Regions from separate parts of the Homo sapiens genome. Here regions 1 and 3 are each linked to region 2. Evidence: promoter capture Hi-C in 16 types of primary human blood cells and fetal thymus (Javierre and others, 2016). All regions are on one chromosome and are shown on one strand. Each heading gives the region's core, a stretch centred on a gene start or on the middle of the fragment in contact. The rest is flanking DNA. Distances are from core to core; before and after follow the strand shown. Region 1 overlaps POU2F1 (POU class 2 homeobox 1). Region 2 holds the start of STYXL2 (serine/threonine/tyrosine interacting like 2). Region 3 overlaps POU2F1 (POU class 2 homeobox 1).

The links. Contacts are between HindIII fragments. The CHiCAGO score rates a contact against its expected background, and 5 or more counts as called.
Region 1: a fragment that was not itself captured here is called in contact with the fragment with the promoter of STYXL2 in region 2 in 1 of 17 cell types (naive B cells); the score reaches 5.2 in naive B cells.
Region 3: a fragment that was not itself captured here is called in contact with the fragment with the promoter of STYXL2 in region 2 in 2 of 17 cell types (naive B cells and total B cells); the score reaches 5.7 in naive B cells.

What each region holds. Positions count from the first base shown.
Region 1 is chr1:167,261,017-167,264,217 of GRCh38, forward strand. All of the region lies in intron 1 of POU2F1 (POU class 2 homeobox 1), which reads left to right. LOC124900412 (a long non-coding RNA gene) reads left to right here. Exons shown (of 2, transcript XR_007066718.1): 2 at 1-3,201. Among named protein-coding and RNA genes, the nearest start is that of POU2F1, 42 kb to the left of the region's middle. The HindIII fragment of the contact is 879 bases long and covers 1,245-2,123 here.
Region 2 is chr1:167,092,517-167,095,711 of GRCh38, forward strand. It overlaps STYXL2 (serine/threonine/tyrosine interacting like 2), which reads left to right and starts at 1,559. Exons shown (of 6, transcript NM_001080426.3): 1 at 1,559-1,678; 2 at 2,318-2,443. The coding sequence starts at 2,334. The HindIII fragment of the contact is 6,143 bases long and covers 1-3,195 here.
Region 3 is chr1:167,327,508-167,330,864 of GRCh38, forward strand. All of the region lies in intron 1 of POU2F1 (POU class 2 homeobox 1), which reads left to right. Among named protein-coding and RNA genes, the nearest start is that of POU2F1, 110 kb to the left of the region's middle. RefSeq lists an enhancer at 210-2,302. The HindIII fragment of the contact is 409 bases long and covers 1,420-1,828 here.

The DNA.
Region 1 (3,201 bases), core at 434-2,933, 170 kb after region 2:
AGCTAGCTTCAGGGTCTCAACTTTAAACCACTATTTTATAGTATTTCTCATTTGATTTATAAATGTCTTGTCTGATTTGAAACATTTGAATAGGAGAGTGGTTCCCAGTCAACCATAACATATCTAAAATTTGTCTGATTACTGATGTTTAAAGAGGTAATTGTTAAAATGAGTCAAGCAAGCGCTATAAGGACTAGTTACAGTTTATTTTTAGAATTTTATTAGGTTTTTTTAAATGGTCACCTTTGAGATCTGCCCCTCTCCCCTGCCACTCATGAAAGGAAAGATGCAGAAAATGATTCTTTATTTTGGAAAACTATTTTTGTGTTTTTAGATGTCTGGATTTTTCATGTGTGCACTAGCAGAGGATTCTTGCATAAGATAATGGGGCCAGTGAGCATGAACGGTTGTAGGTTGGAGATGTGGTCCTCTGCATGGGTTATTTTTCTTTTTAAGAGCAAGATATAGGGATAGATATAGCTGTTGGCACAGTCTAGGGGAACACATTGTTTTAGATAATCTTGCCTCTTCCTGCCCTCTAGCCAAGCTTCTGATAAGCATTTTGCATTGAGGATGACCAACTTTGATCTCTCCACTCAATTTCCCATGGCACTTGTTATCTGTACCAGCTCTTTGGAAATTCATATTCAATTTAGGATTTGATTTTGTTTTTTGTTTTTTAAGACAGAGTCTTGCTCTGTTGCCCAGGCTGGAGTGCAGTGGCACAATCTTGGCTTGGCTCACTGTAACCTTCGCTTCCCAGGTTCAAACGATTCTCATACCTCAGCCTCTTGAGTAGCTGGGATTACAGGCACGTGCCATCATGCCTGGCTAATTTTTGTATTTTCAGTAGAGATGAGGTTTCACCATGTTGCCCAGGCCAGTCTGGAACTCCTGACTTCAAGTGATCCGCCTGCCTCAGCCTCCCAAAGTGCTGGGATTACAGGCATGAGCCACTGTGCCCAGCCTTGATTATGTTTGATAACACTTTTGTATTTTTCTGATTGCTTTGAAAATATGTTTCGTGTACCTAAGAATAGAACCTTAGGAACCTTCTTGGGACAGGGATGGTGTTTTATACTTATTTTTAATCATCTCTACAGTCTTAGCACAGCAGCTAATTACAGTGCAGGTGTTCAATAAATGTTGCTTTTTTTGAGATGGGGTCTCACTATATTGTCCAGGCTGAGGTGCCATGGCTACTCACAGGTGCAGTCATGGCATATTGCAGCCTCAGGCTCCTAAGCTTAAGTGATCCTCCCACCTCAGCCTCCCAAGTAGCTGGACTAGGGGTGCCCACCACTGTGTCTGGTGCTTCTTTCTTTTAGTGTGGCTTAACTAATGAGACCCCAGAGATAAGGGCAAATTTTATATTTGATTTAAAATTGTTGAGTGTTTTATTCAACACTAATTTATTCAGTGTACTTTGTTCAGCGAATTGCGGGAAACACAAGATGAATCAGAAACCGTATCTGCCCTCAAAGGGACTAAGTTCTTAAACAGTTTAAGTTATAAATATAGTTGCTTGCTTCTGTGTACATACGTACCCTCTTAGTTTCACAGAGGGAGCTAGAAGTTGTTTATAATTTAATTGAGGAGATCAAACATATGAAGAAAAATCATTCAATGTAGAATGTGGTGAGTCACAAAGCCCCTGGGGATGGATTTTGTACTTGAGGTGGGTTGAAGAAAGATGCTTAGAGTGGCAGTAACAAGGGAGCTGGGCCCTCAATAAAGAAGGTAGGATTTTGACAGGTGGGTTAAGGATGGAGGGTGGGGTTGCATTTAAGAAAGAAAAAAACAGTGTGAAGCAAGGTCTGGTAGAGGCAGAAAAAGCTGGCCATGTTTGGAGCAAAAGTAGTTCAATTTGGCTAGAATATAGGAGAGAAAAGTACATAAATTGGGGCCAGTTTATGTAGAGTCTTAAATATCAGGCTAAGGTGTTTGGACTTAATTCAGTAGACAGTGGGGAGCCACTGAAGTGTTTTGAGTAATATGATCTGAGCCATACTTTTGGAAGATTAATCTGGTTGCATTGTCAGTAATGAATGAGAAAATGAAAGTGTTTTCCATTGTTGGAACACTTTTTTGTTTTCTTTATAAACATAACTAAAACAAATGTAAGCTTAGTGTAGCTATCAAATAACACTAAAAACCTTTATTAATGAAAATGTAAGAAAAGATATGTTTTTGTATATCCAGCTATTTTAAAAAACATGTCGGCCGAGTGTGGTGGCTCATGCCTGTAATCCCAGCACTTTGGGAGGCCGAGGCGAGTGGATCACCTGAGGTCAGGAGTTTGAGATCAGCCTGACCAATATGATGAAACCCTGTTTCTACTAAAAATGCAAAAATTAGCCGGGCGTGGTAGCATATGCCTGTAATCCCAGCTACTCAGGGGGTTGAGACAGAATTGCTTGAACCCGGGAGGCAGAGGTTGCAGTGCGCCAAGATCGGGCCATTGCACTCCAGCCTGGGCAACAAGAGCGAAACTCCGACTCAAAAAAAAAAAAGGCCCTATTCACCTGTTGGCTTCTAATTCAGATTTTTGCATTTAGCCTCTTCAGTGAGTTATGTACCACAGATAGATATAAACTTCCAAAAACACAGTTCCGATTGGTATATTTTACTACTCAAAGCCTTCAGTATCTCTCCATTTGGCTGCTGAATAAAGTCCAGATTTCATACCCCAACAGTCAAGGCCCTCCCTCATTCATCTCTCCTACTACTCTACTCTCTGGCTGTTTCAGACAAACTATTCTTAAGACTCCTTGTGATTTCCTACTTCTTTGTCTCATTTACTCTAGTTCTTGTGACCTTCATAGAGTCTTAAGAATAAAAGGGAGGGAAGATATGTTGAAATCTTGAGAACACCTGTGAGTAGGTCATATGTGGCAGAGCTGGGATGAAAGCTCTTCTATTACTTGTTATTTTTTGTAATTGCTATGTGCCAGGTATTGTGGCCAATCCTGGGTTATGATGGTAAGTGAAACAAAAGTGATCTCTGCTCTTTATACCTTATGGTCTATAGAGACAAATATTAACCACTATATATAGTAAACCAATGTTGCAATTACAAACTTGGATGGGTCCTATCAAGGAAAAGTACTTTGAGGTACTTTAAGAGAAGATAATGGGCAAAGGGAGTACAGCTAATTTATAGTGGTATGTCAGGAAAGGTCTCTTTAAGGAAGTGTTTTT
Region 2 (3,195 bases), core at 309-2,808:
GTATTCTAGCATTTGTTCTCAAACACAGTCTACCTTCCAGAATACGTAATTTATGCTCTGACCAAGTTAGACATATTTTCATACCCAGAACTCATACTTCCTTACCCCCAAAACTTTATTGATGCCACCCCCTCGGTAATTCCCTTCCCCTACTATATCTGCTATTATAATCTTACTTGTCCTTTAGAAGTCAGCTCATATATCACCACTGCTTCTATGAAGTCTTTCCTGATTTCTTCAGTCAGAAGGGCTCTTTCTCACCTTTGAACTCACACAGCACTCTGGATCTCTTTTAGGACACTAACTACATTCTCTCTTATGCTTGAGTTATTTTTGGTCTGTGTCTCATTCCTCCTAATAAACAGTGAGCTCATTCATTCAGCCATTTCTAATGATACGATATACCAGGCATCATTCCACCTAACTAGGAAGAAAGACAACTTTAAGCTATGTGTTTTGCCAATTTTGGTCAAGTAAAGTGTCATATGTAGTAGGTAATCAATGAATATTTTAAGTTGGTAAATGGATGGATAAATGGATGAAAGGATGACTATGGTATGTGTGGGATGAGAGGTGTGGGCTATTTGGCTTTGCTTTGATCATTGTGATGGTAGAGGGGTTAGTAGGGTAAGACAGCTTATTTGACATTTATGAAGCTCATGGAATTCTTAAGTCACCCAGGGTTGCCAATCCATTATCACCTTGGGGTGTGAGTAGAGGGGAGGAAATGTGGAGGGTGAGCACAACTGTCCAGTTGACCATCCTGAGACATGTCTATTAAAAGAAATGCAGGCAGGGCACGGTGGCTCACACCTGTAATCCCAGCACTTTGGTGGACGGAGGTGGATGGATCACTTCAGCCCAGGAGCTCGAGACCAGCCTGGGCAACACAGTGAGACCCCATCTCTACAAAAAATTTAAAAATTATCTGGGTGTGGTGGCATGTGCCTGTACTCCCAGCTACTCAGGAGGCTGAGGTGGGAGAATCACCTGACCCTGAGAGGTTGAGGCCGCAGTGAGCTGTGATGGCACCACTGCACTTTCACCAGGGCAACAGAGCGAGACCCTGTCTAAAAAAAAAGAAAAAGAAATGTAATCCTGGTCACAAGCAATGACTACTCTTTAATTGTACCACAGTGCTCTCCCAATATCTATCTGTTGAGTACCCTTTCCATTCTATATATCTGGTCCTTTTTTTAGGCCTCTCTAGTTGACATGCGGCTGTGGTAAGTTTGTTTATTCTTCTATATCTTTGGATTTAGACTCTCTTCTGGAAGAACTTTGAATAGGCTGTCCCAGGCAAGAGGGTCTGAAGAGAGAACCCAGAGAAAAGCTGTTCTTTAGATTCTCCATCTACCAAGCACAAACGTCTTCCAATTCTGCTGCTAAATGTAAGCGTCTGGAGAATCAGCCAGGAGGGAAAGAGTTAAGTGAGGACTGCTTTGGGGCCTGGGTCCAGAGCCTGCATTCCTTCCTCCCAGAAATCTGCCAGCCTATGGGGCCAGAGGCTAAATTTAGAGGGTGGCTAAGGTTTCCTGTTAACAGCTGTCCTGCCCCTAGGAGAAGAAGCCCTGAGGAAGGAGGTGGCTGGTTCCTGTCTCACTGGCCGGAGCTTCAGCTTCAGTCATTTCATCTGGGTCCCTCAGCCCTTGGTGGGGAACATCCAGGCAGGTTAGAGGTGAGTGTGCTTCTCCCCTTGTCAATCCTGGTGAGCCCAGGACTTACAATACAAGGGGCAGCGGCTTTGCCCTGAGTGTCAGGGCACAACCATGATGGCTGGGACCAGCTGCTGGTATCCTTCATGTCCTTTAATAGGCTCCAGGATGACGCCTGAGCCAAAGGCCCTACCTCCTGTGGCCTTGGTTAGAGACACCGAAGGCCAGCTGTGTCTTCCCCAGCAGAGACAAAGGTGTGCGCATGGGCATAGGTGAGGGGCGTGTGTGTATGCACATCCTATAATTTCAACTGAAAAATCTTGCTGGTCCAGGGAAGTCATTGTTCTTCAACTTTTTGAGCTGAGATCAGGTAACCTGCTGGCTCCTCTGCCTGCTCCCTTGCTGACATCTGTGGAAGGAGCCACACTGGCACTTCAATATTGTCACTTCAAGGTGGGCTCCTAATATGGCGGGGTGCACTTCTTGGTGTCCCGGTAACAGTGGCTGGGCCAGGTCTGACTGGATATTCCTTGCTGGTCTTTTGCCCACCGGGACCTTCCTAGTCCTAGTTCCACTGAGGTGACATCACCAACACAACTTCTCCCCCAACAAAACCTCAGGAACCTAATTCCCTAACTGCCTTTTTCTTGCCAAACTTTCAGAGGTTGGCAGGTTGTCATGGCGACCAGAAAGGACACAGAGGAGGAGCAGGTAGTCCCAAGCGAGGAGGACGAAGCCAACGTGAGGGCGGTGCAGGCCCACTACCTCCGAAGCCCCTCCCCTAGCCAGTAAGTGACCACTTATCTCCCACCCTCACAGCCCCAGCTGGGAGGGGCTGGGGACAGGTTGGGCCATTAGCTCCAGGGAGCCTGCAGCCATCACCTCGGTTCACTCATTTAACAAATATTATTGAGTACTTGTATGTGTCCTACTTTCTGGAGGAGGTAAATATGCAAATAGACTGATTGCAATGTGGCAGGTGTGTGCTAGATATTAATATGACCAGGATCTAGTATGTGGTGGACTAGACAATAGGGAAGGGAACAACTGGACTTGGAAGGTCATAGGAGGCTTGGCTGGAAGAGATGATGATGGACCCGAACCTCAGAGGATGAGTAGGAATTTGGCCCTGCTTGATTCAGTAGGACTGGGGCTGGATATGGGGATGACAGGCCGTAGACTATAAGAAAAGGGATGAGGAGAGGAGAAGCCCATGGAAGCATTCCCTAGCACTAAAATAATTTTTTATCCATAATCAAGCTGTGTCTTTTAAACTGGGACATGTGCATGCCTGGGGCAAGTGGCAAGATGCCAAGAGGCATGAGGCATCTTCCTGGAGAGTCCTCTTTTTACCACAAGTAATTTGAAACTTTCTTTTACATTAAAATCATCGACGTTATGTTATCATGTAGAATGAAAAAAATGTGCATAACATTTTAAGACAAACCACGAGACGTTAAAGAAATGTCGTGCTTAATTGCCTGCTAAAACAATACTGTGTGTGCCTGTCCATTTTCTTCTGTCATAAATCATAACAGGA
Region 3 (3,357 bases), core at 374-2,873, 240 kb after region 2:
TTTAAAGGCCCCTTGTTAAAATCTGTCTTTCATTTCCTGAAGACTAGTTCTAAATAAAAACAGTTATTAATGGGCTGACACCTTTCAGAACTCTCCTCAAATCTAGTGCACTCTTCTGTGTATCTGTACACACCTGACTTTTAAACACAATGTCTTTGCTGCCGTTTACTGGTTTCTTCACTACACGGAAAACAAACCATTCAGTCTGCTGCTTTACCACCTCTCAGCAATTCCCTACGTGTTTAACTCATCCATAATGCATAGGAATAGCCAAGAGCACAGATTCTGATATCAGAAAATTCTAGTTTTAAATCCTGATTCCGAATTACTAGTGTGACATTGGATAAAGTGTTTTAGTTCTCTGTGCCTCAGTTTCCTTACTTTAATAATATATAAGGAAAGAAAGGGGTAATAATGCTTATTACTCCATGGAGATTTTATAAATCTCCTGAATTGTCTGTGATGATTAGGCTGTTGTCATTGTAATGCCTAAAAAATTTTGGGTTGATGACTTACCTTGTAAATATACTTTAAATTGAATAAACATATAGTTTAGTAAGGATTATATATATGTATGTATGTTCATTAAGTGAAATATACTTGAGAATACCAAGTAATTCCACAATTTACATGGCCCACCCTTTGACAATAGAGATTCTAAGTAACAAACTGTCTTCTTTCTACTTGAGATTTATTTTCATGGGGGAAGGATACTGCATAATATGTAGCATTCAACTAATCTATTCTGTTAATTTGGTAATATAAAAAGATTTGTAGATAATGAATTTCTATACTCTTTAAGATACTTTATACACCTTGCACTGCTTCTGGGTTTACTGTTGCCTCGTTTTAAAGTGGGACTTTCTCTTGACGGAAGTGTGTTAAGAATTGGAAAATTCCCTATCAGTAGACTAGCACCATCTTGACAGCCTTGTGTTCTGCTTCTACCTTGCTAATTGTTTCCTTGGGATTATTTGGATTGTGTAGAAAGCTTTTTGCAAATCCTCTTATTACTGAAGTCATTGTTGCCAGCAGGAATAAGATTAAAGGTGCTTAAGTCTGTAGGGTTGTTTCTAATTTGTACGTGTCATTTCAGTGGCATTTTAACAGAACTCTGTCTCCTGTACCTCCCTTCTCCCTTGGTACTATCTCCAGTTAGGTCCAAGAAGCCAGGCCATTGGAAGAAGTCTCATTTTATCCTCCTAATTATTATGCTGGCACTCAGGAGATAATTTTTCCCTTCATGCACTGCCAATTAATATGCAAATAGCCTGATAAATATTTATGCAACGATTTAAATTATGCAGGGAGTGCTTTCAGTATATTCTGTAAATGAATTGTTCATGGACTTCAAAGTGCTGGCTGCTGTGCTAACGAGGAGAGATTTGCATAAGGCCCTAATCACGCGCATACTGATTAAGCTTCATTATGGAAACTGCCAGCTGCAATCTTTGTTTCTATTTTATTACAAAAAGAGGAACTTTTTCATGCTTCAGTTGCCTTGACAATGTCAGTCCTAGCTGGTAGGAGAGACTAAAACTCCTCTGAGCAACTGAAGTTTCCTTATTCAGTTGAAGATTGCTATGGTGTAACAGAAGTTGTATTTTGCTTTTCCCCTTAATCCACTTTCCACCCTACGCAACCCCCCTCTTTTCGCTTAAGAACATACTGTAGATTTGTTAGAAATAGTAGTACCTTCTTTCCCCACCCCAAACTGCTACCTGTTTCTTCCTTGTTTGGACTCTCTGCTCCTCTAGAAGATTTCACAGCAATGCTGGACTGCAGTGACTATGTTCTAGGTGGGTACCAGCACAGTTCTTTTCTTAGAAGCTTTAATATGGAAATAGAGTGTGTCGGGTTGACTATGCATAAATGCTTAATCGCATATGCAGCCTGTGGCGGGGGAGGGGGAGAGTTGGACTGAGCAGGGAAGGAGGAAAGCATTTGCAAAGCACAAGCTTACTTGAATTTGCAGTAGGTCCCTCCCTGTGACTAGCTCTTCTGATTCAGAGGGTATCGTTAGTAAATACAGTTAATTTAGAGTTCAGCTCGAATGAATATTTTTGCTTTTTGGAAATTCCTATTGAGAACATTTCATGTAGTTATAAAAACATCTTAAATCTGAAACAAGGCATAGAACTGTACATATATAATATATACATATTAATAAAAATGTTTTTCATACCTAATGAGAACGTCTTATACAAAAACCAAAATGCTCAGTGAAAAATAAGGTTGAGTCACAATGCAGAATAGTTTTTATAAATGTTAATAAAGAGGGTAATTGTACTGGTTGCTGCAACAGATCTGTTGATCGATTTCCAGATTTTAGAAACTATTAACTTTTCAAATTTTTGCTAGGATTAGTCCTCTTTTTAATTTTTTTAAAATCAACTATATACTCTAGATAACTACAACTTTAAATGTTGGAAAACCTTTTTAGAGTTTTCTCTGTAGAACAGCAAGCCTTTTGGAGTGGAAGATGTCCAGCTTAAATTTGTTAAAACCATCTTTGGTGATGAAGATTTCAAATAAATCAAGGCACTTTGATTTTTAGATATATGGTGGCTAATGGTGGTCATATTTTGTGTGGAGTTATGTCTGTTTATATGCAGAATTATTGAGACTTTTTTAGTTACTCTAGTCACCTGGAAAGTTAAATGATATGAACTCCGGGACTTGGATATCTTACATTTAAAACTTTTGCAAATGACTTTTTTCCTATATTGTCATTTTCTGCACTTGAAAATTAAAGCTGCTCCTGTCACCTTCATAGTTGCCAAAGATAAAGTAAAATGATACTTCTGAAAACGTTTGAATTCTTATGCATAAGGCATGGCCTAAACCCAGGGTAGCAGTATCTGCCCAGCACAGTAAAAGCCACTATGTAAAGAGTGAATGACAGAAACAACAAATTTATGTCAGGAATTCAATCTTGTATTTACTCTTTGACATTTACTTAGTTAACAATTCAAAAAAAGGAAAGAAAAATACCTTTTTGGAATATTTTTAACACATCATTTTAGAAGTAGAAATTACATCTCTTACTTTCAGTTAATAGTAAGTATTATTTAAACAGTCTTCCCATTGTGCAATTTTATTTTTGTGTGTATGTGAAGTAATGTTTTATTTTTGTGTGTATGTGAGATAATTTTGTTAAATGCTTTTGAAGCTCTTGACAGTTCAGTAGAAGAATCTGAGATGATTCACTTAAAATACCTGTGACATAGTCTTTATAGATGGGAAAATTAGAATATGAATTGTACAAAGTCAGGCTCATGACTTGTTAAGAATTATGCTTATTTCTGCGGTGCCCACATATGTGAGAAAACTGTTACTCTTTTTATGAATGTTAAC